5 separate regions of the Homo sapiens genome follow, and regions 2, 3, 4 and 5 are each linked to region 1. Evidence: promoter capture Hi-C in 16 types of primary human blood cells and fetal thymus (Javierre and others, 2016). All regions are on one chromosome and are shown on one strand. The core of a region is centred on a gene start or on the middle of the fragment in contact, and the rest is flanking DNA. Distances in the headings are between cores, read along the strand shown. Region 1 holds the start of TMBIM4 (transmembrane BAX inhibitor motif containing 4). Region 2 holds the start of GNS (glucosamine (N-acetyl)-6-sulfatase). Region 3 holds the start of KICS2 (KICSTOR subunit 2). Region 4 overlaps CAND1 (cullin associated and neddylation dissociated 1). Region 5 has its middle 28 kb from the start of TBC1D30.

Region 1 (5,257 bases), core at 634-3,133:
TAAAGGATCAAACTTTGCTGATGCTGTTTTTAGTCAATACAAAGGTGGGTTCCCAATTTAGCTCCAGTTTGTCCTCTATAATAAATTCCATTATTACGGCGGGGCAGAGAAAGAGGGGATGGCTTCGGGTTAGGATGGGAGAGAAAACGGATTACATTCCCAGTGTCATCTGAAGTAAAACTTTTCTCAGATTTTTCTCAGCAAGCTTTTTAAGTCCTCTCACCTGGAGAGTGACTAAAGAGATAGAGGCCATATCCCATTCACCTATCCATTCAACAAACTAAACTAAAACGAGGGGCCGGACACAGTGGCTAACGCCTGTGATCTCAGCACTTTGGGAGGTCGAGGTAGGGGGATCACTTGAGCCCAAGTTCGAGACCAGCATGGGCAACATGGCGAAATTCCGTCACTACAAAAAATACAAAAAATTACCCGGGGGTGGTCACCTGACCTCAGGAGGTCAAGGCTGCTGTGAGCCGAGATAGAGCCACCGCACTCCAGCCTGGGTGACAGACTGAGACTCTATCTCAAAACAAACCAACAAAAACAAATTAAAATGATATGCTTGTAAAATGTTTGTAAAATCATAAAAGATAAAGTGTTTTTTTGTTTTGTTTTGTTTTTCTTGTCATTGTGGAAGTGACGTTAGTTCTTTTGGCAAAGGCTTCTGAGAACATCAAGTTTAAGGATTTAGTTTAGAATAGACTGTTCCACAACTGTTCTGAATTCCACTTGCTAAGTGTTCGGGTGTTGTGGTTAAGGTGAGGACTGGGCAATGTGGGTAGATCAGAGTAAACTCATCAAAACAATTCCAAGGGACCCTAGGATGACACTACTCTGGGTATGTCTACACCTCTTTATATTGGAATGACAACAATATCATGAATATTCACTCTAATCCATTGTATTTGCCACCATCATCTCTCTCTTACAGTAATACAACTTTATCCCCTTTTCTCTGCCTTTGGTAATGGCCCTCTTCAATGTATTCTACTTCTGGCCTAGGATGATCTGGCCTTTGTTTATCTATCCAGCCTCATTCTTTGCCACCTGTCCCCTACACCAGCTGAGCTTCACCGTCTCCCTCTTTGCAGACGTTGGTCCCTTGAGGCCCAGCCTACATCACTGCTCTTTCTCTGGTTGGCTCCTACTTGCCTTTCAGGATTAAATATTACTTCATTCAGAAAGCCTGGTTTATAGAAAGTGCTCAATAAATGTAGGTATTATTATTATTTTAAAATAATAGAAGTAAAAATGCATCCTCGGTGTGATTATTGAAAAAGTGGATGAATGAGATGGGTATTTGTTGAGTGGATGGGTGACTGGGACATGGGTTCTATCACTTTAGCAACTCTCCAAGGTGAAAGGACTTAAAGTGTGTTCAGGCTGGGCGCGGTGGCTCACGCCTGTAATCTCAGCACTTTGGGAGGCCGAGGCGGGCGGATCACGAGGTCAGCAGATCGAGACCATCCTGGCTAACATGGTGAAACCTCGTCTCTGCTAAAAATATAAAAAAATTAGCCTGGCGTGGTGGCAGGCGCCTGTAATCTCAGCTATTCGGGAGGCTGAGGCAGGAGAACCGCTTGAACCCGGGAGGCGGAGGTTGCGGTGAGCCGAGATCGTGCCATTGCACTCCAGCCTGGGCAACAAGAGTGAAACTCCATCTCAAAAAAAAAAAAAAAAGTGTGTTGAGAAAAGTTTCACTTCAGATGACGCCGGGAATGTAAACCGTTTTCTCTTCCATTCTAACTCGGAGCCATCCCCGCTTTCTCCGCCCAGCTGGAATTTTTGAAGCGAGAAAATCGACTCGCTCGGTGTTCGCCCGCCGACGCCGCACGGCTTGCTGGGGCTGGGCTCTTCCTCGCGGAAGTGGGGAGGAGGCGGTTGCGGTTAGTGGACCGGGACCGGTAGGGGTGCTGTTGCCATCATGGCTGACCCCGACCCCCGGTACCCTCGCTCCTCGATCGAGGACGACTTCAACTATGGCAGCAGCGTGGCCTCCGCCACCGTGCACATCCGAATGGGTACGTTGTCCCCTCTCCAGTGCCTCCCAGCCGCTTGTCTGCACTGCTCGGCCTCTAGAAGCCGACTTCCGGCTTCCGAGGGAGAGCGGCCATCTCCTGGGACTCACAGGGAGTGCTCACTGAGCTCCCGGCCCTCCTTCTCCGGGTACCAGAGGACTGGCGCCCTCCTCAGGGAGTCGGGGAGGCGCTTCCTCCCCTCCTAGCGGGTGTGGGAGGGCGCCAGGCCCAGAAGGCTTGCGGCTGTCCTGTGTGCGCCCCGGCTCCCCAGCGGGCGCCGCGGTGTAGGAAGGGACAGATGGAAACCGCCGCAGCCTGAATTTGGCATCTTGAAGTGAAAAGAAACGTCGTGGAAATGAGTCGGTTGATCACTGTGACTGACGTACACACGAGTGGAATCCACGGCCTGATGTTTTTGTTCTGTGGGGTTTCGCGTTACAGGCTTATATTTACCGTCCTGTGCTAGGCTGGAAGCTCCCTGACGGCACTATTTCCTCTCCGCAGGGCCCAGAATGCAACAGGTCTTTGAGGATTATTGAGGAAGTTGCTCAACACAGAAGCTTCCTAAGTCAGTCTAAATTGTGTTTTAAGTTATTACGTAGTAGCCAATGGGCAGAAATTTTTGAATTTAAAATGCTCAGCTTCATCTACGTGGAAGCCATTGCCTGCTCTAGTTTGGTCATTTGATCGCCGAAACAGCCCCAGACTTTCAGCCTGTTTAGGCAGCTGGAACTTGTTCTGGAAAAGGAAAGATGAAGATAGTTCTGATGTGCTAAGAATCTTAGTGCCTAGAACTTGTTCTGGAAAAGGAAAGATGAAGATAGTTCTGATGCACCAAGAATCTTGGTGCCTAGCATTTATATTTTTGGAATTGAATTTTGAAATTATTTTGGCCAGTGAACTCAGCTTTTTTTTAAAAAAAATTAATTGTGGTAAAATACAGGTAACATAAAATTTACCGTCTTAACTATTTTTAAGTGTATAGTTCAGTAGTGTTAAGTTATTCACATGGTTGTGCACTGTTAAAAGAAAAACTTTAGACACATTAAATCTAACGGAGTTTGAGCACAGAATGATTTGCGAATTGGGCAGGTCCCGGAACCAGAATAAGGTTCAGAGTGATGAGTCCTGCCGCTTGGTGGGAGAAAATTTATGGAGAGAGAAAGTAAAGTGAGGTACAGAAAATAGAAGTGAGGTACAGAAAGAGTTGATTGGTTACAGCTTGGTTTTTGCCCGTTTGAACATGGTTTGAACACGTGGCCATCTTTGGCTGAAACTCAGTGATTGGTTCAAGCGTAGGTTACAGCCTGTTTACTAGGTTATAGTTCACTATATACCGAGAACCCCTAGGCTGAACTTAAAATATCTAAAGGCATAGCTTTAGACTAAACTTATATACCATCCAATATCCAGAACTTTTTAATCTTGCAAAACTGAAACTCTATACCTATTAACTCCCCATTCCTTCCTTCCCCCAGTCCCTGGAACCACCATTTCACTTTCTCTCTCTGTGAATTTGGCTACTCTAGATACAATCAGTATTTGTTTTTTTGTGGTTGGCTTTTTTCAATTAGCATAATGTCTTCAAATACATCCATGTTGTGGCATATGTCAGAATTTCCTTTTTTTTTTTTTTTGAGACAGGGTCTCGCTTTGCCACCGAGGCTGGAGTGCAGTGGTGAGATCACTGCTCACTGCAGCCTCTACCTTCTGGGCTCAGGTGATCCTCCCGCCTCAGCCTCTCGAGTAGTTGGGATTACAAATGCAGGTCACCAGGCCTGGCTAATTTTTTTGTACTTTTGGTAGAGACGGGTTTCTCCATGTTGCCCCATCCGATCTTGAACTCCTGGACTCAAGCGATCCTCCCACCTCAGCCTCCCAAAGTCCTGGGATTACAGGCATGAGCCACTGCACCTGGCTGCAGAATTTCCTTTTTAAGACAGTAGTAGTACTTTGTATGTATATACCAAATTTTGTTTATTCATCCATTGATGGACATTTGTGTTGCTTCTACCTCTTGACTACTTTGAATAGTGCTGTCATGAATATAGGTGTGCACATACCTCTTCAAGACCGTGCTTTAATTCTTTTGAATATATACCCAGAAGTGGAATTGCTGGATTGTGTGGTAGTTCTATTTTTAATTATTTAAGGAACGGCCATACTGTTTTTGATAGGGGCTACATCATTTTACATTCTCAGCAACAGTGCACAAGGGTTCACCTTTTTCTACATCCTTGCCAACACATTCCGTTCTTTTCTTTCTTTTTAAAATGAAAATAGCCATCAAATGAGTGTGAGGTGGTATGTCCTTTTGGTTTTGATTTGCATTTCTCTAATGATTTAATGATGTTGCACATTTTAAAAGTATGCGTGTGGGGCATTTATACATTTTCCTTGGAGAAATGTTATTCAAGTCCTTTGCCCAATTAATTTTTTAAAAGCAATTTTAGGTTCATAGCAAAATTTAGCAGAAAGAACAGAGTTCTTATATACCCTTTCTGCTTTTCCCCAAGCCTCTTGCACTAATAACGTTCTGTACCAGAGTGGTATGTTTGTTACAATCAGTGAACCTAGACTGGACACCTCATTATCACCCAAGACCAAGGTTTACGTTAAGGTTCGCTCTTAGTGTTGTATATTCTATGAGTTTGACAAATGTTTAATGACATGTATCCACCATGATAGTATCATACAGAATAGTTTCACTGCCTTCCTCTGTGCTCTGCCTGTTCATCCCTCCCTTCCTGCTGATCTTCTATTGTCTCCATAGTTTTGTCTTTTCCCAAATGCTGTATAGTTGGAATTATCATGTAACCTTTCAAATTGGCCTTTTTCACTTATAATATGCGTTTAAGGTTTTCTACATGTCTTTGCATGGCTTGATAGCTCATTTTTCTTTAGTGCTGAATACTATTCCATTGTTTGGATGCATTACAGTTTATTCATTCACCTACTGAAGGAAATCTTGCCTGCTTCCAAGTTTTGTCAATAAAGCTGCTTTGTAAACATCCATGTGCAGGTTTTTGTGTGGACATAAGTTTTCAACTCATTTGGGTAAATACCAAGCAGCACAATTGCCGTGTTGTATAGTAAGAGAATGTTTAGTTTCATAAGACATCACCAAGCTGTCTTACAAAGTGGCTGTACTATTTTGCACTTCCACCAGCAATGAATGAGAGTTCTTGTTGGTTCCACATACTCGTCAGCATTTGATGATATCAGTGTTTTAGATT
Region 2 (5,131 bases), core at 840-3,339, 1.4 Mb after region 1:
ACATGCATCTTGTATCTTGTATCTTTATGACCTCCTATCTCATCCTGTGACTTAGAATGCATAACCATCTGGGAATGCAGCATAGCAGGCCTCAGGCTTATTTTACTCAGCCCCTTTTCAAGATGGAGTTGCTCTGGTTCAATCGCCTCTGACAGCAGCATCCTGAACAAAGTGGGCAACTAATTACACAATTTCTGGCCTCAAATAGTTTATAATCTAACCTTGAAAAAAATAGAAAAGAAACAATTTTACAATTTGGGGCTTCGATACAGATGAAATAGGTTATTTTTTTGTGCAAGAAAGTCTTCCTGGAAGTCTTGAAACCTGAATACAGAAGGATTAGTTATTCTAACCAGCTTGAAAAATTGGCCTAGGCCAAGGCTGTAACCAAGTATTCTGGTTGTCTAGGAACTGCTCTGACCACACTTCCGGCATAATTGTTTCTTGCAGAAAAACTACTTCAGTTTTTTTAAAGCTTCTTTTGCCTTCTGTAGGCTTACTTAAAAAAAAAAAGTATTAAGATCCTTTTGTGGTTCATAAGCCTGATGATTGGGTTTTCATGCTATTGTGTGAGTTACCACCCCTACCTCAAACCTTGTTAGGACTCCGCGCATTACCCCTCTGTGTGAAAAAAACAAAGTAATAAAGGTAATTTTTTTTTTTTTGCATAAGCCCTATCCTTGTACACATCAGGTTTCAACGTGTTTCCATCATTATTTTTACCTTATAGTATAGTGTTTTCACGAGTTTTTTTTTTTAATACTTTAAGTTCTGGAATAGTTTTCACGAGTTTTAAGAGACTCTTCTTGGCAAACAGTTCAACTCAGAGAAAATACTTTTACCAGCAAGGAGGTATACCTTGTTATATCGGTCTGGGGATGTGACTTGACAGTTCACCTTGCCAGGAATATCTCTGTGATTTTTTGTTTGTTTGTTTGTTTTGAGACAAGAGTCTCGCTCTGTCCCTGAGGCCAGAGTGCAGTGGCTCACTGCAAGCTCCGCCTCCCGGGTTCAAGCGATTCTCATGCCTCAGCCTCCCGAGTAGCTGGGATTACAGGCGCCTGCCACCACGCCCAGCTAATTTTTGTATTTTAGTAGAGACGGGGTTTCCCCACGTTGGCCAGGCTGGTCTAAAACTCCTGACCTCAGGTGATCCACCCGCCTCCCAAAGTGCTGGGATTACAAGCGTGAGCCACCGCGCCCACGGTGGGCGGTGAGAGGAGAGGGGCAAAGTCTAATTATTCCAGAGCGACCACAGAAATATCTGGAGCTAGTTTCAAGGGCTATTCCCCGCTAAAGATTACTTAATAATGCAGTTGGATGACCACGTTTCAAGATTTTTGTTCGATCTGCACATCCTCCAACATGTTCCAAGAGGGTGTTTAAAAAGTCACCAAGGACCATTAGGATAACCATTAGGATAAAGCTGTCAGGACATCCCTAAATTGTTTGAAACTACGATGTCTGCTGAGGAAAGAAGAACATAATTAGGCTTTGGAGTTAAGAGAGCTAACCAGTTCCGAATTTAATGTCTGAGCCAAATGAGAATGTTAAGATTTATCTCACAAGTTGTAGAGAAAATTAAAAACGATTAAACATCCGGGCCTTGAATAAGTGCCCGTCGACTTGGGGATTAAATATGGTAGAGTCCACTTTCCTCACCAGCTGATGATAATTTCTGTTATGTACAGTCCTCCTTTCTCTTCCTTTATCGGTTGGTTAGTATTTGCCAACTCTTTCCTGCTTTTCATCTTCTCTTCCCCCCATTTAAATCTTTCCACCAAGCGCTCAGAAACACGTACGTCCTACCAGAACGCAACCCGAGCCTGCGCGAGAGGTACGTACAGGTCTTGACCTTTTCCCGGTTCTCCGCCCTTTTCCCGGTTCTCCGCCCTTTTCTCCGGTTCTCCGCCCTTTTCTCCGGTTCTCCGCCCTTTTCTCCGGTTCTCCGCCCCTTTTCCGCCACTGCCTGATGCCTCCCTCCAGGCTGCGCCAGTCCGCAGCCCCGCCCACGCCGGCCGTCACGTGACCGCGCAGCGTGCTCCGCCCCCTGTCCCTGGCTCACGTGATCGCGCCTAGGGAGAAAACGTCTGACTCCAGCCACCGGCCTTCAAGGCACGGCTTTTTATTCCTTCGGCTGGTCGGCCTCTCGCCCTTCAGCTACCTGTGCGTCCCTCCGTCCCGTCCCGTCCCGGGGTCACCCCGGAGCCTGTCCGCTATGCGGCTCCTGCCTCTAGCCCCAGGTCGGCTCCGGCGGGGCAGCCCCCGCCACCTGCCCTCCTGCAGCCCAGCGCTGCTACTGCTGGTGCTGGGCGGCTGCCTGGGGGTCTTCGGGGTGGCTGCGGGAACCCGGAGGCCCAACGTGGTGCTGCTCCTCACGGACGACCAGGACGAAGTGCTCGGCGGCATGGTAACTCTTCTGTTTCTGCCCCGCCCCTCTATCTCTTGGGCTGACTACCCGGTTTGTTGCTCTCTTTCCCGGTCCCCACCACCCTCCTCCCCGAACTGGCTGTCTTATCCTTGGGTAGGTTTGGTTTTCCCACCTGAGGCCCTTTATGCCGGTGTAAGGGACTGCAATACTCTTTTCCTTTCTGGATTGAGGCACATGCGTACAGCACACAGAGCTTCTAGTCTGGACCGTACTGCTGTGGAGTTTACGTTAATATCTCAAGATAAACATGTGGAGACCAGTGGAGGATGGGTTGAACCAATGAGGATCAGGTGCTGTCTAAGAGCACTCAAGGCCTGATTGTTTTTCTTTTGGATTAGAGGATCACAGACAAGTCCAGTCCCCTTTATGAGGGACCTAGACCACCTCCACGTTTGTGCCTGTATACAATGTCTGTATCTGATGTCAATAAAAATAAGCCTGGGCCGGGCGCGGTGTGTCACTCATGTAATCCCAGCACTTTGGGAGGCCGAGGCGGGCGGATCAGAAGGTCAAGAGATCGAGACCATCCTGGCCAACATGGTGAAACCCCGTCTCTACTAGAAATACAATAATTCTAGCTGGGCGTGGTGGCGCGCAGCTGTAGTCCCAGCTACTTGGGAGGCTGAGGAAGGAGAATCGCTTGAACCCGGGAGGCAGCAGTTGCAGTGAGCCGAGATCGCGCCACTGCATTCCAGCCTGGCGACAGAGCGAGACTCCGTCTCCAAAAAAAAAAAAAAAAAAAAAAAAAAAAAAAGGCCTGAAGTGAACTAATCTGGTAGGCCGACCGTCGAACTATTGAGGGTGTGTGTTGCCTCACAAGAATCAAGAAAATTCAATTAGTGTGATTGAACACCTGACTGTTGCATTAGAGACTGTCAGTGTTTCATTTTCTATCTAATGGGTGTTGTCACAAGACTTCATTTTTTTTCCAGAGTAAATTTTGCTTGTGTATTGCAGAATTATGGAATGTGTGACCTTTGGAAACATCCACTCCAACCCCTTCCCCATGGAGGCCCAGAAAGCAACTTGCCCAAGACATGAGTAGTTGAGGCAGAGTCCTCTGACCCTGGGTTCAGCATTCCTCTCTTCGCTTTAAAACCAAATGCTTTATTGCTTTCTTCGTTTCAGTTCTCTTTTTGCTTTCAGCTGAATGCTGAGACTATGAAATACTCCAGGCAAGACGTTCCTAACTTTTCTTGTGTAGTTACACACCCTAGCTCAGTGTCCTTCAAACCTCTGGTCCCAACCCTTGAGTGAGTTATGAAATCAGTTTAGTGAGTAACTACCAACATTTTTTATTTCCTCTGGAATAGAATAGAATAGAAAAGGTCCATGTGTGTGAGTGTGTGTGTTACACTTGATAAAGGTAATCATTATCTATCTCTCTTTCTTCCCGAGTTGTAAAATATATTTCTTAGGTTGATGCTCAAGAGCTTGAGAGTCTTTTATAGCTGATGTTTTAAGAGGCTTGCATTTTGACTACACATTTCTTCCTGCCATATATGCTTCATTGTCTGTTAGTTTCTACCAAGCCATGTTGACATTGGTCTTAATTTAATTTTCCTCCTACACTTTAGGTTCACTACTCTTCCAACTACTGCACTTACTTGTCTGCTCACAAAATTCCTTTTTTATTAAAAAAAAGAAAATGTGTCCTTGAAGAGTGTTTTGTCCAGAAAAAGCAAGCCTTCTCTAGCAGTGACTTAAGTACTCAGTTAAAAGGTCAGGCTTTTTTAGGTGTTGAAAACAAAATTGATTACTTAAATATAAGGTATTCAGAGTTGTTTCTTCAATTCTTATAAACCACAGCTGTAGTCTGTGTGTATTTGAGGTCTCTTTAGTATGTTAATCCAATTTGCTTCGTTAAGCCAGTAGCAGATTTTTTGAGTCAGGGTCTTGCTCTGTCATCCAGGCTGGAGTGCAGTGGTACAATCAAGGCTCATTGCAGCCTTGAACTCCTAGTCTCAAGCAGTCCTCCTGCCTCAGTCTCCCTAGTAGCTGGAACTACAGGCACATGTCACTACGTCCAGCTAATTTTTAAATATTTTGTAAAGACAGGATTTCTCCATGTTGCCCAAGTCGGTCTTGAACTCCTGGACTCAAGTAACTCTTGAACTCCTGAACTCTTGAACTCCTGGACCTCAGCCTCCCAAAGTGCTGGGATTACAGGCATGAGCCACTGTCTCGGCCCAGATTCTTTTTTTTAATAAGTGTTTCTACTGGAGAGAGGTACCAAAATTGAGTGGAGGGCATAAGTCAAACTTAATGTTCCAAACTCAAGAATTCTGGCTTCTCTTCTAGGCTTTTTCAGAATATTCTACCACTAATTGTCAAACAGGACTCCAAGGGGAAGAGCTAGGACAAGAGCATTTGAGAACTTACTTGGAGCCGAGCAGAGTATGAGGATTTTTATACTTGTGCTTCAGTCATCACAGGAGTCCTCTGCTGTACATAGTATCCTTATCTTAAAAGGAAACTAAAACTGGAAGGTGGTTAAGTGACATGACTAAGTTCATATAGCTAATATTGGACAAAGCCTGGGTATCTTATGACCTCAGATCACCATGCTTTTTCTCCTATTCTAGAATACTGTGATAATAATCAGATTTCATTCCACATACCCACACCAGCATAATCACACCATAGGTCAGAGAGTCTGCAGGTGACATTCGGGGATGCCAGTGACATCATGGAACTCCT
Region 3 (5,755 bases), core at 1,881-4,380, 1.9 Mb after region 1:
GGAGCTAACCTATGAGAATGCAAAGGCATAAGCATGATATAATGGACTTTGGGGACTCGCAGGGAAGGTTGGGAGAGGGGTGAGAGATAACAGACCACACACTGGGTATAGTGTACACTGCTCAGGTGATAGGTGCACCAAAACTCTCAGAAATCAGTACTACAGAGCTTATTCCTATAGAAACCACCTGTACCCCCAAAACCATTGAAATAAAATTAAACAGTTTCTTTTGCTAGTTTGGTAGATGAAACATAGAATATAGTTTATTTTGCATTTCTTTGATTACTAGTGAGGTTGAGCATTAAAAAAGAATTACTTGAGTTTTATATTTCTTTTGGGACTTATATATTCATGTCCTTTTATTCTTGTTGGTTAGTAAGAGATCTTGATATGTTAAGTACATTAAACCTTTGTCTGACATACATTACAGATATCTTTTTCCCAGGATGTCATTTTTTTTTAATTATTATACTTTAAGTTTCGGGATACATGGGGCAGGTTTGTTACATAGGTATACATGTGCCATGGTGGTTTGCTGCACCCATCAACCCGTCATCTACATTAGGTATTTTATACAGTCAAATCAATCTCATCCTTTTTAAGTTCTTCCAATTCTTTTATATTTAGAAGGTCCTTCTCTATCTTTAGATCAATTAGTCACTTGTATTTTTTCTGGTTTCTGGTTTTGTGTTTTACACTTTTTTTTTCTTCAGGAAACAAGGTGACAGTCTATTTTCCCATGGTTAAGCATATTTCCTTCACTACTAATTGAGTATGTTTCTTCCCCACTAATTTATAATGTCACCTTCATTACCTAAGGAATTCTTATATTATGTGGGTATGTTTATGAGTTTTATAATCTCTTTTATTGTCTATTGGTTTTGGTGATAGTACCACACTTTTTTTTGATTACCTCTATTTATTCATCAAGAATCATCACACTCTCCTCCAGGAAGCCTCCTTAATTCTTCCAAAATGGTATGATTGCTCCCTTCACTCTCTGTCTTTCACCTTTGTCATGTTTAAAAATCTGCCTTGGCCAGGCGCGGTGGCTCACGCCTGCAATCCCAGTACTTTGGGAGGCTGAGGCGGGAGGATCACCTGAGGTCGGGAGTTCCAGACCTGCCTGACCAACATGCAGAAACCCCGTCTCTGCTAAAAATACAAAATTAGCAGGGCGTGGTGGCACATGCCTGTAATCCTAGCTACTCTGGAGGCTGGCCTTAGGCAGGAAAATCACTTGAATCCGGCAGGTGGAGGTTGCAGTGAGCTGAGATGGCTCCACTGCACTCCAGCCTGGGCAACAAGACCAAAACTCTGTCTCAAAAAAAAAAAAAAAAAAAAAATCTTCCTTGAAGCTGGGCGCAGTGGCTCATGCCTGTAATCCCAGCACTTTGGGAGTCCGAGGCGGGCAGACCATTTGAAGTCAGGATTTTAAGACCAGCCTGGCCAACATGGTGTAAACCCCAATTCTGTTAAAAATACGAAAATTAGCCAGGTGTGGTGGCACTGGCCTGTAATCCCAGCTACTCCAGAGGCTGAGGCAGGAGAATCACTAAAGCCTGGAAAGCGGAGGTTGCGGTGAGCCGAGGTCATGCCACTGCACTCCAGCCTGGGGAAAACTCCAGCCTGGGGGAAAGAGTGAGACCCTGTCCAAAAACAAAACAAAATAAAACAACCAAAAAAAAAAAAAACTGCCTTGTATCATTGTTAACAGGGTTGATCTTATCCAATTACATTCTTGAGTATAGGGAACAGGTGCACAATACCTATTCATTAAAATTAGATTAGTGGGATTTCCTTTAAAAGGTAGTGATGATGGCAGAACAGCTCTAGTTTGAGAAAAAACGAAAATAGGCAATTCTCTCATTTGTTCAACAAACATGGCTGCGCCGTCCAATATGAAAAGATTATAACTGTAAGTGAACCCTACTGTACCCTAGGGATCTCACCACTTGGGGAAAGAGATATGTAAATATATGCGATTAAATAGTGTGACTAAGAAGCATAAAATAAGTATGCACAAAGAAGAAAGGAAAAAACTATTGAGTAGTGGGTAGTGTTTCAAAGTAGTGGACATACAAGTATGAGCCGGGTTCATGGGGTTTCTTAAATGCCAAAGGAACTTGTAATTATTCTAAATGACAACGTGCACAATTTACATTAATGTATTCTTCATTCTGGCCAGGGGTGGTGGCTCACACCTGTAATCCCAAAACTTTGGGAGGCTGAGGTGGGAAGATTGCTTGAGCCAGGAGTTTGAGACCAGCCTGGCTAACATGGTGAAACCCTGTTTCTATTAAAAATACGAAAATTAGCCAGGTGTGGTGGCGCTGGCCTGTAATCCCAGCTACTAGGGAGGTTGAGGCAGGAAAATCGTTTGAACTCGGGAGGTGGAGGCTGCAGTGGGCCGAGATCTCACCACTGCACTCCAGTCTGGGCGACAGAGCGAGACTCCGTCTCAAAAAAAAAGAAAAAAAAAAGATAACTTTTTAAGGAAGGTTAATGCAGTTTGGGCCAGGGGCTCTACTTATTAGTTGCAGGGCTAACACAGACCCGGGAGAACTAGAACGGGATACAGGTGAGAGTTAACCGGTGGTGTGTGATGTGATGAAAACTAGGCAATGGGAAGGAGATCAACCTTTACCCGTCAGTCTTCTAATCTCAGCAAATCACTTCCATGAGTTGGTGTAGAAGGTGTCAGGGCTGACTAGGGTCCCTGCTGTGAGTGTGGGCACAACTCCAGGCACTTCCCCATCTCCCAGCCGGCCCAGCGAGGTGCCTGGAGAGCCCAGGCCAGATGTTCTGGCCAGGGCTGACGTCACGTTTGCATGACGTCACCAGCGCTGACGAACCACACAGAGAGGGGCCTGTCAGCTCACCTCAGAGCGCAGGCAACTTCTTAGAGCGGGGAACTGGCCGCCTCCTATTCTACCTTGACGGTCCGAATAGTCAGAGCTACAGGAGCCGAAGCGCCGAAGGAGCTCAGCAACCGCTACCTCCCTCTTTCCTTGGCCCTTATCCGCGTCTTCTCTAAGGCCCAGGAGCGGTCCCGGCAGCGGCGCGCTCACGAGTCCGCCGGTGGAGGCGGTCACGCGCACGCACGCTTGTGCGCAAGCCCGTTCCCTCAGAACCCGGAAGTGCGAGGCCGAGGAGAGCCACGTGGGTCGAGCTGGGGCGCAGCTCGCATGGGGGAGTCTATCCCGCTGGCCGCCCCGGTCCCGGTGGAACAGGCGGTGCTGGAGACGTTCTTCTCTCACCTGGGTATCTTCTCTTACGACAAGGCTAAGGACAATGTGGAGAAGGAACGAGAGGCCAACAAGAGCGCGGGGGGCAGCTGGCTGTCGCTGCTGGCGGCCTTGGCGCACCTGGCCGCGGCCGAGAAGGTCTATCACAGCCTCACCTACCTGGGGCAGAAACTAGGTACCTCCGCCCCGCCCCCCGAGCCCCTTGAGGAGGAAGTAAAGGGGGTATATTCCCCAGTCGGCAGTGGCTTGGGTTTCCCGTCTCTGTGTCACTTCTAGTCGCAGGCTCGACTCGGCATTCCCAGATCTCCTCCCACCGTTCCTTTCCTTCCCTGGGCTTCCACAAGCCCCGCCCACCGGCCTGCGCTGCTGATAGATTGGCGAACTGGGTAGATGCTCTTTGCAGGGCTGTGACCCAAACCGAAGGGTTTGCCCTTTTGCCTCGTGCATGGATTGATGCCATAAATGAGAAGTTAACCAAACTATGTCTTCATTGTTTTAATTAGTGACGCTGCAGCCAGAAGAGCAAAACTTTGCAAAACAACCTAGTTCTATTACTGAACACTGTTGTGTGGCCTCTTAAGGTTAAGGCCCGAGAGTCACATTTAGAGTCCTACCCCGTCTTCATAGTCCCCCAATACATATTTAATGACTAAAGTAATAAATGAATATTGGGCAGGAAAGGCAAGAAATATGCCTAACACTAGCAAGAAGAGACTTAAGGGGAAAATGGTAAACACTCTTAGCACTTCATGTACATCTTGCCTCTGAAATAAGATTCAAGAGCTGATTCAACTGATTTTTACTAGTAGAAGCAATAAGTATAAGTAGATGAGAAGGAAATAATAGATGTAAAAGGCATGGAATATGCATACAAAATAATATTACTGCTTAATTATGACAAATAAATATATTTGAATCCTAGGGGTTTCAGAGTCAGTACTTTGACCTGTTTTAGACTCTTCAATTTTCAGAAGCGTGAGGTCTGATGTGAATGAAGGACACGTATATAAAATACAGAGAATAGAAATGTAAAATTGGTGTAGATTTCATTTTGATCCACCCCCCCCCGTTCCCTAACCAGCCCCCTACTTTCCTTATATTGCCTGAAGGTGACCATGTACATCTTATTGAGCTTTCAGTAAACACTCAAGAGACAGGGCTTCCTGAGTTCGTAATTGCTGTAGCAAGTATGTTGATTTATACATACTTATTTAGTATGCTAATTTATTAGCAAAAACTGGTCAGATAGTTTCACCTTATTTTTTTCCTCCCCTTTTTACAATGGCATTTCTCACAAATTTGCAGTTGCTGCTATGGTGTTATTATTCCCCTTTCTATAGATTAGCAAATTATATATGCAGTTATGTTGGGTAGATGATAGAGTCGAAACCAAAATATCTGCCCTTGTACTCTCAGATTGAGTTTGCATTCATATAACTTATTAAAAATGTGTATGAAAATTATAATTTATGTATAATATATACAGATATATGTTTTTTATATATGTGAAAATGGGGTGGATTCTAGCTGTAATACTGAAGGTAGGTAATATTTAGGCAGTTTCAGTTGTTTTTAGACTCCCCCACCTCAAAGAATGGTGACTGATTCAAGTGCCATGATTCTTTGCTTTTTTTTTTTATTAACTTATCCATGGAAATTTGATGAAAGCTGTGTACTTACTCTCCAGAAAAATATATATGTACATATAATTTTGCGTATAACCTGAGTGGGTTCAGTTGAATTTTCTAAAGTCTATTTATTGACTCCATTTAAAAAAATCTGCTACTCTAGTTTTAAGTTGAATGAGCCAGGTTTTTACGTAAACAGAACTGGCTGCCCTGTGTGTAAGAATGTGTGTATAAGATCTTCACTGTCTCTGACTTGGGTTCTGTAAAGTGGTCCTCAATGTGTAAATTGATTAGTTCTGCTTGAACCCCAGCTGGCATGGGTGAGCATGAGGACTATGCCTTGAAACTGACCTATACAACATTTGGTGCTGTGAAACATGCCCAGGCACTGTTACGTTCCTAGGTGGGCTCCTCATTTCTGAGTAAATATTCTGAAAATGGTATATTTAATGCTTCATAACTTATTTACACGTACAGTAAACATAAGTTCCAGAATTTAAATTTTATCTTTGCACATTTTTTTGGGTACTGGAGTGTATATGATATCAGTGTGCTTACAATACGACTACACAATTACCCGGTTTACTATTTTCTTAAAAACTTCAGGAGAAAACTTTCGTGTTGCCATTTAAAACATTCCCATGTTCTCCAACTACTTTGCTCATTAGAACATTTATATAGTTTTCTTTAGAAAGCAAAACAAAAAGTTTATGCGTGCGTTTAAAAAATTTAAAACAATTCTGAAAAGTTTTTTTAGCCTTACTGAGATATAATTGACAAATAAAACTATATATATTTAAGATGTACAACTTGATGTTTTGATGTATATGTAAATTGTGAAATAATCACCACAATCAAGCTACTTAGTATATCCATCAC
Region 4 (4,954 bases), core at 1,521-4,020, 1.1 Mb before region 1:
ATAGTCTTAATATTGTTCATGTAAAGAAATCTAATTTTTACTAATCTTTCTTCCCAGTTTTCTCTGTGAGGTCCCTTCCTCCTCTTTCTCAGTGGTGAGCCCTAATCACTGCTGATAACCAGTTAGCATAGTATATATCAAGAAAAAAACATCAAAGTAAAATCAAGAAAGTTACTGCCATCAACCTTCTAAGTATTTTTAAAAGTGCCCAGAAATCACCTTCTTAATCTCTGCAAATCTATTTCTTCTGATTAAACCTGCTTTTCTCCAAGCACAAGTACTTAAGATAATTTCACTATTTCCTGTTATGTTATTGTAAATGCCCACCCACACTGTACTTTCAGCTATATGATAGGATCTCTAAGGTTCCTTCCAGCTCTGAAAACCTGATTCCTTAAAAGGCTTGAGTTTTTTTTACAAGCATTTTAAACAGTTTCCAAAAGAAAATACCGTCCAATATCCAAAACACTTAAATAAATAAATCTGGTAATATAAACCTTTATCAAATTGGGAAAAACTTGCATTCCAAAATGGGGTGAATTATTTTAAGAAGATTCTATCAAGTGGTATTTAAACAAACAGTTTAGTTGATTTTACAATGGTTTTCTGGAGGTTCCTAAAATCCCTATATAATGGAAATAAAACCCAATTCTACTTAAACAAGCACCTACTGAGAACCCACATGGCCCAGAGCCAGACAAAGAGAACGATTCCGTTTAGTAAGACAAGGTCCCTATTCTTAAGGAGTTCTGTGGACAATATCCATCCAGCTACAGTCAGGTTATCTATTCCCTCTTCCCCAGTGAAGTTTTGTATCGTGTGCTTTACATTTTCACTTTCTATCTAGAGTTTCATTTTCAACACCTGGCTCAAATCTCTCCATGGACATGAATCTTCTTGCTTTAATATTCTCTGCCACTTAATGCCTGACAATTACATATTGCCCTGGGTTATTCATCTTTTTACAATAGTGTCTTAACTATTCAACAAGCATGTAGATTTAGGGAAAGTAAGCACCAGATCTTAAACTTTTTGTAGTCCTCAGGAATTATTAAAAGCATCTTCTAGCATGAAATATTCTATAAGCCTAATTTTAGAGGGAAATGAAATTTAAGGCCTGAATCTTAACATCCACTAGTCTAAACCCTGGAGAAGTGACATAGCTGGGTGGTCAAGAGTTCATGTTCTGGGGGTAAAGAGATCCTATAAGTCCCAGACCTACTATCTAACTGACCTTAAACAAGTACTTAATCTCTCCAAATCTCAGTTTCTTCAACTGTAAACGAGATTATTATTATCCTCTTTTACTAAAGTTGTAAGGATAAACAAAAATCAAGCTCACAGTAAGCATTAATATTAACTATTATATATAGAAAGATAATGATATTTTCTTTAGCTCTTGATTCCTTGGAATATTTTAAATCAACTGGTGGTTGAAGAATATGAAAATAAAAGAAGTGGCTGGGCACAGTGGCTCAAGCCTGTAATCCCAGCACTTTGGGAGGCCAAGGTGGGCAGATTGCCGGAAATCAAGAGTTTGAGACCAGCCTGGGAAACATGGTGATACCCATCTCTATAAAAAAAATTAGCTGAGTGTGGTGGTGCGCACCTGTAGTCCCAGCTACTCTGGGGGCTGAGGTGGGAAGAAAATCGCTTGAGCCCAGGAGGTTGAAGCTGCAGTGAGTTGAGGTGGTGCCACTGCACTCCAGCGTGGGTGACAGAGCGAGACCCTATCTCTAAAAAAAAAAAAAAAAAAGAAAAGAACTTAGTTACCTCAACCTACCAAATATTCAATATTAATATTCACAAATGGAGTGTCACATGGTTCATCCACATTAAAGCTTTCACTCTGGTATCAACCGAATCCCCTATCTATTGGCTACATTATAAGGTTTACTCTTTATTCCTTTATGGAACATGCATCCCTAGAGGTCCTTAAAATAACTATATACACTGGTACAAATGTTTTCTGGCAAAAAGTCTCAGTACACTCCAGAAGTGTTTCTTTTAGGGAGGAAGTGATGAGAAGCACTGTTCTAAGGTACTGTCCCAAGGAATGTTTCTTCATTTTTCTTCTGAAGGTTTTATTTGAATTGGCATTCATTAATAACTTTTCACTAAACCGAGGCTAGTAAGTAACAGGCACTATCCTAGTAATTAAGACACACAAATGCCTCCTCCTTTTTTTAATAAAAGAGCTCCTAGTCTCCTTTTTTTAAAACAAACAAACAAAAAACCCTGCATGGGTGGATGCGGTGCTGGCCTGTAATCCCAGCACTCTGGGAGGCCCAGGCGGGTGGATCACGAGGTTAGAAGATCGAGACCATGCTGGCGAACATGGTGAAACCCCGTCTTGACTAAAATACAAAAAATTAGCCAGGCGTGGTGGTGTGTGCCTGTAATCCCAGCTACTTGGGAGGCTGAGGCAAGGGAGTTGCTTGAACCTGGGAGGCGGAGGTTGAAGTGAGCTGAGATGGCGCCCCTGCACTACAGCCTGGCGACAGAAAAGACTCCATCTCAAAAAAACAAACAAAAAAAACCAAAACAACAACAACAACAAAAACCCTGCATATGGCAGAGTTCCTAATCTCAGCATTTCTCATCCTAATGCTTCCCCATTTCTCCTAAGTCTTAATATCTCATTTTTAAATAATGCACAATACTAAAACACAAAAGAAATATTACAATTTTTCAATAAATTGAGCCTTAATAGTCCTACAAAAAGATTCTTTTAAAATGCAGAAATTTCCAAATTTTTAAGCCTGCATTCATTTCTTTACCTTCTCTGTATTAATGAACTATGTAATTATATAAATAGACCTGAAATTTTATGCCTATAACAACCTTTTGTAATTAGTCATGTCCATGCCTCTCAGAAGTGAAAATGTAATCTCAAATTAAATAGCTTGCATAAGATCTTACAGTTCATAACAAAGAATCACACATGATTAGAACCCAGATCTTGTGACTAGGTCAAATTCTCTTTGGATTCTACCATGAGGATAATAAAATTTGCTCTTCATTTTGGCAGCATTTGTTTCTTCTCTCGTCCTTAGTACAGGCAGAGTGCTTTGCACATGTTGGTCATTCCATAATGTTAACCTTGCCCTCAAGATCCTTCTAGTGCTAGGTATTTTTAAAATATGTAGCCACAAATCTTGGTATTTAAGCCAAAATAAATAAACTTCTAATGAGAACAAGGCATCATTTTTTTAAAAAAGAGCAAATTAAAATAAATGCCTATACTAAAAATATGCAGAAAAAATTTCAAAATTCTTGACTCCAAACGCTCACTAATTAATTATTAAATGTCTGTTTAAACTAAACATATAAAGTGCTTTAGTTCCAAAGACTTGTTTATTAACTAGATGGCTACAGCGCATTATAAAAATGTTTTTTAGAAGACAGTTGATAAAAATATCTTAATGATGCCAAATTACTGGAAATCACGTACTGCTCCTAAATATACCTTGTTTAGCATTCACCAACTATTAGGAATATATCAATATTACACTAATCCTCCAGGAATTGTTTTGATTCAGTACAACCAAAATTCATACATAATCTTTACCAAATTCAGCAGTGACTGTCATTTAGTATCAGAGCACTATTTCTTTCATGTAATTTATTTAAGAAAAAAACAACTAGGTATGTACATGTTATCTTTCTTTCACAGGAAATTTAAGAAAGCAAGCTTCAGTCAATAATCACATGTATGGTATCACCACATAATTTCTTTAGCCTTTCTAAACTTATACAGGAGAATGACTAGTTGAACAAAATTGTATTATTATAAAGTGCTACCTTCAGACTGAAATTGACCACAATCAGAATGAAATTTACCACCTTTACAGGATGAGCCAAACTGACAGCAATGGGGAGGAAATCACGCCACACACCTCATCCATTACTTGAATTGGAAGCAAGCAAAGCCCCAAAAATCAAACGGCATTCCAATCCGTAAAACAACACAAAACCTTTATTTCCCCCAAGAATCTTAATTTTGGCCCTAGAACTACACAAATCTAAAACACACAAAACAAACATGTCACCTCCAAAAAGTTACAATACTAAAATTTTTACCATTAGCGAAATGATTTTTAAGTTTTAAATACATTTAAGAGCTGCCTAGGTAGAAATATTTTTTAAAGTAATACGTGGTTTTGTGGTCATTGATTATTTTAATAAGCCAGTATATCAATTTAATCAGGAACACAATTACTACTTTTTCATGGTTCTCCTTTCACAAATCCGAAAAGTTCTTCCCAGTCCACACGGTTTGGACACATTTTCAAGTGTTAAAACATATTGTTCATACAAAACAAACAAGCTCTTTAGTCACAATTTTAGTTGAAGACTATTTGTTATTTCCTTTAAAATGCACCCAAATTACAACCACTAAGCATTAGAGAACAAAACAGGTATAAGGAAATAAGCGATTTTTTTTTCTTTTTTTTTTTTTTTTTAGATTGAGAACTTATTTGTGAAGAGATGGGAGGCGGGAAAGAATGCAACAATCACCGAAGCGTGCAAGGAAAAATAAAAACAAAGATAACCTGTAAAAATATAACAAATCTTCACTATGCATATTACAACACTTTGGAACCAACAGTACCGATCTCCTGAACAGAACTGCTGTAATAAAGCTTCATATTCACCAGGTCCGTATTAAACATCTCTTCCTTTTGAAGATCCGTCTGCTATGATTAAGATCCAGCAATCCACCCCTTTGGCAGTGATTTTGGATATGAGGACATGAGACTGAAACCCCGAGTTCCTAAGTTGGTTTTACCTGACAAGAGGAACTGACAGTGATGCTGGCGGGAAAACCCTATGAGCGAAGTTTCCTCCATCCTGGCTCCCCTCCCCCTTCTTCCCACCTTCACGAAAATTAATAATCCACAAAAGAACTATGTATCAGCCAAGAGCGCAAAAGTTCATCATTCCACCTGAA
Region 5 (5,129 bases), core at 1,241-3,740, 1.4 Mb after region 1:
GTAAGTGGCAAAACTGGGATCTGAGCCCAGGGGACATGGCTCCAGAGTCCATGTTCTCAACCAATGTGCCCCCCTCCCATCCCATCAGCTCTCCAGAGGCACATCGTCAGAAGCCCAGGCTTCTCTCACCTTTCTCCATCCCTGCTCTTAAGAAAGGTGCCTGATCCCAGCACTTTGGGAGGCCGAGGCGGGCAGGTCACGAGGTCAAGAGGTCAAGACCATCCTGGCTAACAAGGTGAAACCCCGTCTCTACTAAAAAATACAAAAAATTAGCTGGGCATGGTGGTGGGTGCCTGTAGTCCCAGCTACTCGGGAGGCTGAGCCAGGAGAGTGGCGTGAACCAGGGAGGCGGAGCTTGCAGTGAGCCAAGATCGTGCCACTGTACTCTAGCCTGGGTGACAGAGCGAGACTCCGTCTCAACAAAAAAAAAAAAAAAAAAAAAAGGTGCCTGAAGCCAGACCAGCCTGGCAGATGCTGAGGCCCAGTCTGTACCCTGAAGAAGTGGTCCCAAGGAAAGAGAACCAAGAAGAGAAGAGGATCTGCATACACAGAGAACACTCTGAGCTCCCATTCCATCTTTCTACCACTCATCCCCAGAATAACTCTGTTGCATAATTGAGCAAACGTCAAGGTTTTTAAATTTTACAATAGGAGGTCTTTCAGGTAGTCTAATACCACTCAAACGAGTCCTTGTCTTGAGAATATCAAATCAGCCTTGACTTGCCTGAAATTCTCCTATGTCAGCAACACCTTCTCCTAAGCATTTTCCTCCAATTTCATAAAAATACATAATTCTATCCTGAAACAGTGTAAGACTCATTGGAATGTCAAGCTGAAACCTGGTACAGTGAAAACCACCATTTGTTAGCTGATTATATTGGAAAGATGGATTCAGAATACTTCAAAATGTCAGCACATGATGTGTAAAAATGGCAGTTGTCAAAAAATCTATTTCAATATACCACAACCTCCATTAGAACTATTATACTGTAATTTTTTATTTGCTTCTCTGACTTTATTCTTCTGAAAGCTCACTGAGGATACTGTATATTTTTCTTCTTCTTTGCATGTTAGCACCCAGCAGGTACTCAACACAGAACTTTTGAATTTATAAACAATTACATATATACATGTACACATTTAACATTTCAAAGTACTTTCAATTCTGTCTTCAAAACATAGTTCTAAGAGGTAAGTAGGGCCAATACTATTGTCCATTTTACAGATGAAAAAGCAGAGGCACAGAAAACCAGAATGATGGCTGAAGAGAGGTGTAGAGATGACTTTAATGTTTGGTTTCAGATTAAGGATAAAATGACATGCTTCTATACTGGTTGAAATCATCCAGCAGAGATGGAAAACCTGATGAAGGAAGAGAGACAAGAAGAAGGATGATTCCTTGAGTAGGGAAGACAAGATGGATCCAGGGTACCCCAGAAGAGCTGAACAGTTCATCTCGAGGTTCAGAGGAATGCCACCTATACAGGTGGGAGTATGAGGACATTCGCTTTTGATTGCTTACATTTTCTCTGTTAAAATACACAGCAAAAATCACCAGCTGAGAGCGAGGGGAGAAAATAGGATGTAAAAAGGGAAAGAGAGAGAGAGTATGAACAGACTAAAGAAATATCATAGGATTGCTGGTTGTACCAAGGGTGTCTGTGAGGCTGGTGGTCACATATTTAAAGAGAGTCGTCCCCATGATATGTGTTTCTGCAGCTGCAGTTAGCTAGGTAGATGCAGAGACAGAATGTGCAGAGACTTGAGTTTAATCAGGCTTGGGGTTTTGCAAGGTGAAAATGACAAAGAGTGGAATAAATAAGTTAAATATGTACACAAGTGAGTCATTATGCTGATGACCATAAACTCTAAGCAGAGTTAGTAAGAAACCAAGCACTGGATGTTTATTGATCACTGCTAGGTCAAATATGTTGTGCAAGGTGACACAACAGGAAGAAAAGAGATTCAAAGGAGCTTGTCTTCAGGAAGCTGTCACTATTAGGAAACAGTCCAACAGTTCCCAAACTTTTCTGCACATTAGAATAGCCCAGGGAGCTTAAAAATCACAATGTTTAGATCACACTCCATGCCAGTAAAAGCAGAATGTCTGGGCTGGGGAGCCAGGCATTAATAGCCTTTTTAAATTTTTCAAGTGATTCCAATATGCAGCAAAGCTTAAGAACACTGGAATAGTCTTTTTTTTTTTTTTTTTTTTTTTTTGCAGAGGAGAATGATACTTGAAGATATATGTGAAATTCCTAAAAGTAAGCATTCAGTATAAGTCATATTATCATCTTATATTTTGCTGTTGACATAGGAAAAATGCAGTTGATTGTCCTACCAAATTAAAGAGTCAATTCTTTTGGGGGAAAAAGTATTTCTTTTAGGCTTGTATTTACACTTCGTATAAAAGAACTTCAAATCGTGAGGTCTTAATCTTGATATATTGCTTGTTACCATATTCCCAGCACCTACAATCATGTGTGGGAAATAGTAAACACAGAATATCTGTTAAATGAATAACGCTTTTGAAAGATATAGTCTCTAAAAAATGGTTTAATGTAAATGCCTCTTTTTAAACTATAAATTGCAAAATATCCCCACTTCTAGAAGTATTCTCTCATAATATAACTAAACACAAAAATGGTCACAATACATATACATGGTAGTTCCAACAAAAGTTCCCTTTATTTCTTTCATATGGTGTCTATCTGATGTTGTATCATTTTTAGTCTTAAAGGCTGTCTTACCCTTGTGGCAATACAGAGAACATAAATAGTATAATACTTCTCTCACGTAAGCTTAAGGGAAGGAGCTCCCCCTGCTGGCTGTATATATAGTTTTCTCTTGCCATAACTGACAAGAGAAAACAAACAAAAAACTCCTGAGTCACTAACCAGCTGAGTGAGTTTCAGCAAAGTTCAACTTTTCCAAGTTTCCCTTTGCTCAACCAAAGGTTGTGGGTAAATGGAGATCATTTTTTAAAAATTTCTAGTAGCTCCCAATTACCGTGACTAAGATTCAGTTTTCCTACAAATCAACCCCTTTATAACGAGGTCATAAGAAACACAAGTAAATTATGACAAAATGAAAAAAAAAAAAAAACTCTTAACTTTAAGATGCTAAAGAGCTTAAAGAAAATGAGGAGAAACTGTTGCTAAAATATGCTGTATGCAAGCTCAATCAGTTTCTTTCATCTAGTCATATTCTAAGTTATTTCAGGGTAGACCAGGCTGCTAATTATATATCAAAAACATACCTAAAACGGTTATCAATATTAACAAATTTGTAATTAAATTCACAATTTTGCAGGCAAATTCCAAATTTAAGGCAAATCTACCCTAATCTAAATGATAACTTATTTTTGTCTCTCAAAAGAAATGAGTTTATGAAAAAGGAAAAAGCACATCTGGGTAAGACGGAAGATTGAAAAAAAAAAGCATCTAACTTTGGTCCCCACCAAAACCACACTAAAAATATTGTAAAGATAATTTTTAAATCATAACCCGCAAGGACCAGAGTGAAGGACAAAAAAAAAAAAAAAGGAGCGTGGAGAACAGCAATGAATTTTTGAAGCTGGAAAAGCAAACAAACATAAATTGACAGAGGATCCTAGAAAGCCAAATCCCAAACTAACAGGAAAGCTGAAATCCAACTTATGTTATACTACACAGTCCACAAGAGACTTGGGGATTGGCAACCAGTTCCCCAGGAGGCTTGACAAGAAATATGGGGAGAAGGCTGTTGAGAAGTAGTTGGATCCCTCGTTCCTCTCTTCATAAGGTTGGGCAATTACCACTTTCCCACCCCTGCAAAAGTTTAAGAGTCTTATTTTTGAAGAGAGTGATAACAGAGTCCTTGGACAACCAGCTGAGGGTGAGTACCTTACCTAAAACAGGGACTCAGTGGCCATATGCATACTGAATGCAGAGACTCCCAGCTCTCTTCACCCCACTCGGCTCCCAAAATACCAGCAGCCAGACCTTCACCCTTCGAGCAGGAGATCAGAAGACTCTTCCTTGAAGAATCTGACCAGCCCAGATGAAAGACTTGAAGATACTGACCTGAGGGGTTCCACAACAAAGGGCCCATCCACATGGCACTTCAATGAAGCTCAAAGTCAATAAGCCCTGCCAGGGAGCCCAGAGTTCAAGTCAGCATTTAGACTCCCACACTTACTTATGAGCAGACAGCCAAAGAATACCAGACATCTAAGGAAAGCTTCTAAATATAATACAGTTTTGAAAGTTTCTTTCCTCCCTGTATAATCTTATCTCTTCCAAATTGTTTTCTTTTGTCTGTTTTAGTCTCTATCATAATATCTTTAGAGCAATAAGAAAATATATTGCATCTATGAAACAAGAACAGGATACCATATAAAAGAAACATTCAAATAGCAACCCAAAAAGATTTCTCAATAACAGGACTGGAAAATAAAGTTGAGGTAATCTCCAAGGAAATAAATCAAAAGAACAAGGAGTTGGAAAGCGAGAAAGAGAGAAAACGTTACAGCCAGGTGCAGTGGCTCACACCTGTAATCCTGGCACTTTGGGAGGCCGAGATAGGGGGATCACTTGATTGAGCCCAGGAGTTTGAGATCAGCCTGGGCAATGTGGTTGAAACCCCATCTCTACAAAAAATACAAAAATTAGCCAGATGTGGTAGTGTGCACCTCCCAGCTACTCAGGAAGCTGACATGGGAGGATCACCTGAGCCCCAGGAGGTCAAGGCTGCAGTGAGCCACGATTGCACCACTGCACTCCAACATGGGCAACAGACGAGACCCTGTCTCAAAAAAAAAAGAAAGAACATTACAGAACTTGTCTATAAGTTCCAACAGCCAAACAATAGAACCCCAGAAAGAGGAAAAAGAAAAAAGAAAAAGGAGGGAGAAAAATCAACAAAGAAATAATTCAGAGAAAATTTCCAGAACTGAATGACAAAAGTTGCCTGATTGAAAGAGCCTGTCTAGGCCCAGTGACAATGACCTGAGTGAAAACAGACCCACTCCAAGCAACATGATTGTTGTATTTCAGGAACACCAAGAACAAGGAGAACAGTCCACAAGCTCTTAAAGGGAAAAAAAATAAACAGTCCAGGATAAAGTGTCAGGCATCAGAAAGGCTTCA

Evidence for each region. The method cuts DNA at HindIII sites, captures the fragments that hold promoters and counts their contacts. A CHiCAGO score of 5 or more calls a contact.
Region 2: a contact is called between the fragment with the promoter of GNS here and the fragment with the promoter of TMBIM4 in region 1, in 4 of 17 cell types (non-activated CD4 T cells, M0 macrophages, naive CD8 T cells and 1 more). The highest score is 6.3, in non-activated CD4 T cells.
Region 3: a contact is called between the fragment with the promoter of KICS2 here and the fragment with the promoter of TMBIM4 in region 1, in 2 of 17 cell types (activated CD4 T cells and total CD4 T cells). The highest score is 6.2, in activated CD4 T cells.
Region 4: a fragment that was not itself captured here is called in contact with the fragment with the promoter of TMBIM4 in region 1 in 1 of 17 cell types (fetal thymus); the score reaches 6.8 in fetal thymus.
Region 5: a fragment that was not itself captured here is called in contact with the fragment with the promoter of TMBIM4 in region 1 in 1 of 17 cell types (monocytes); the score reaches 5.4 in monocytes.

What each region holds. Positions count from the first base shown.
Region 1 is chr12:66,166,622-66,171,878 of GRCh38, reverse strand. It overlaps TMBIM4 (transmembrane BAX inhibitor motif containing 4), which reads left to right and starts at 1,883. Exons shown (of 7, transcript NM_016056.4): 1 at 1,883-2,024. The coding sequence starts at 1,928. RefSeq lists enhancers at 1,902-1,981, 1,625-2,149, 2,632-2,731. The HindIII fragment of the contact is 2,376 bases long and covers 208-2,583 here.
Region 2 is chr12:64,756,364-64,761,494 of GRCh38, reverse strand. It overlaps GNS (glucosamine (N-acetyl)-6-sulfatase), which reads left to right and starts at 2,089. Exons shown (of 14, transcript NM_002076.4): 1 at 2,089-2,410. The coding sequence starts at 2,219. It overlaps LOC124903113 (small nucleolar RNA U13), which reads left to right and starts at 522; the gene lies at 522-627. It also overlaps a transcript of TBC1D30 not described here. RefSeq lists an enhancer at 2,663-3,543. The HindIII fragment of the contact is 13,978 bases long and covers 478-5,131 here.
Region 3 is chr12:64,219,671-64,225,425 of GRCh38, reverse strand. It overlaps KICS2 (KICSTOR subunit 2), which reads left to right and starts at 3,130. Exons shown (of 3, transcript NM_152440.5): 1 at 3,130-3,423. The coding sequence starts at 3,189. It overlaps LOC124902952 (a long non-coding RNA gene), which reads right to left and starts at 3,077. Exons shown (of 2, transcript XR_007063347.1): 1 at 2,883-3,077. RefSeq lists enhancers at 2,677-2,736, 2,817-3,006, 3,157-3,246, 2,728-3,322, 3,357-3,416 and 1 more. The HindIII fragment of the contact is 7,597 bases long and covers 1-5,755 here.
Region 4 is chr12:67,270,282-67,275,235 of GRCh38, reverse strand. The region is part of intron 1 of CAND1 (cullin associated and neddylation dissociated 1); the gene reads right to left. Among named protein-coding and RNA genes, the nearest start is that of CAND1, 3.4 kb to the right of the region's middle. The HindIII fragment of the contact is 1,853 bases long and covers 1,844-3,696 here.
Region 5 is chr12:64,794,120-64,799,248 of GRCh38, reverse strand. It overlaps a transcript of TBC1D30 not described here. Among named protein-coding and RNA genes, the nearest start is that of TBC1D30, 28 kb to the left of the region's middle. The HindIII fragment of the contact is 627 bases long and covers 2,177-2,803 here.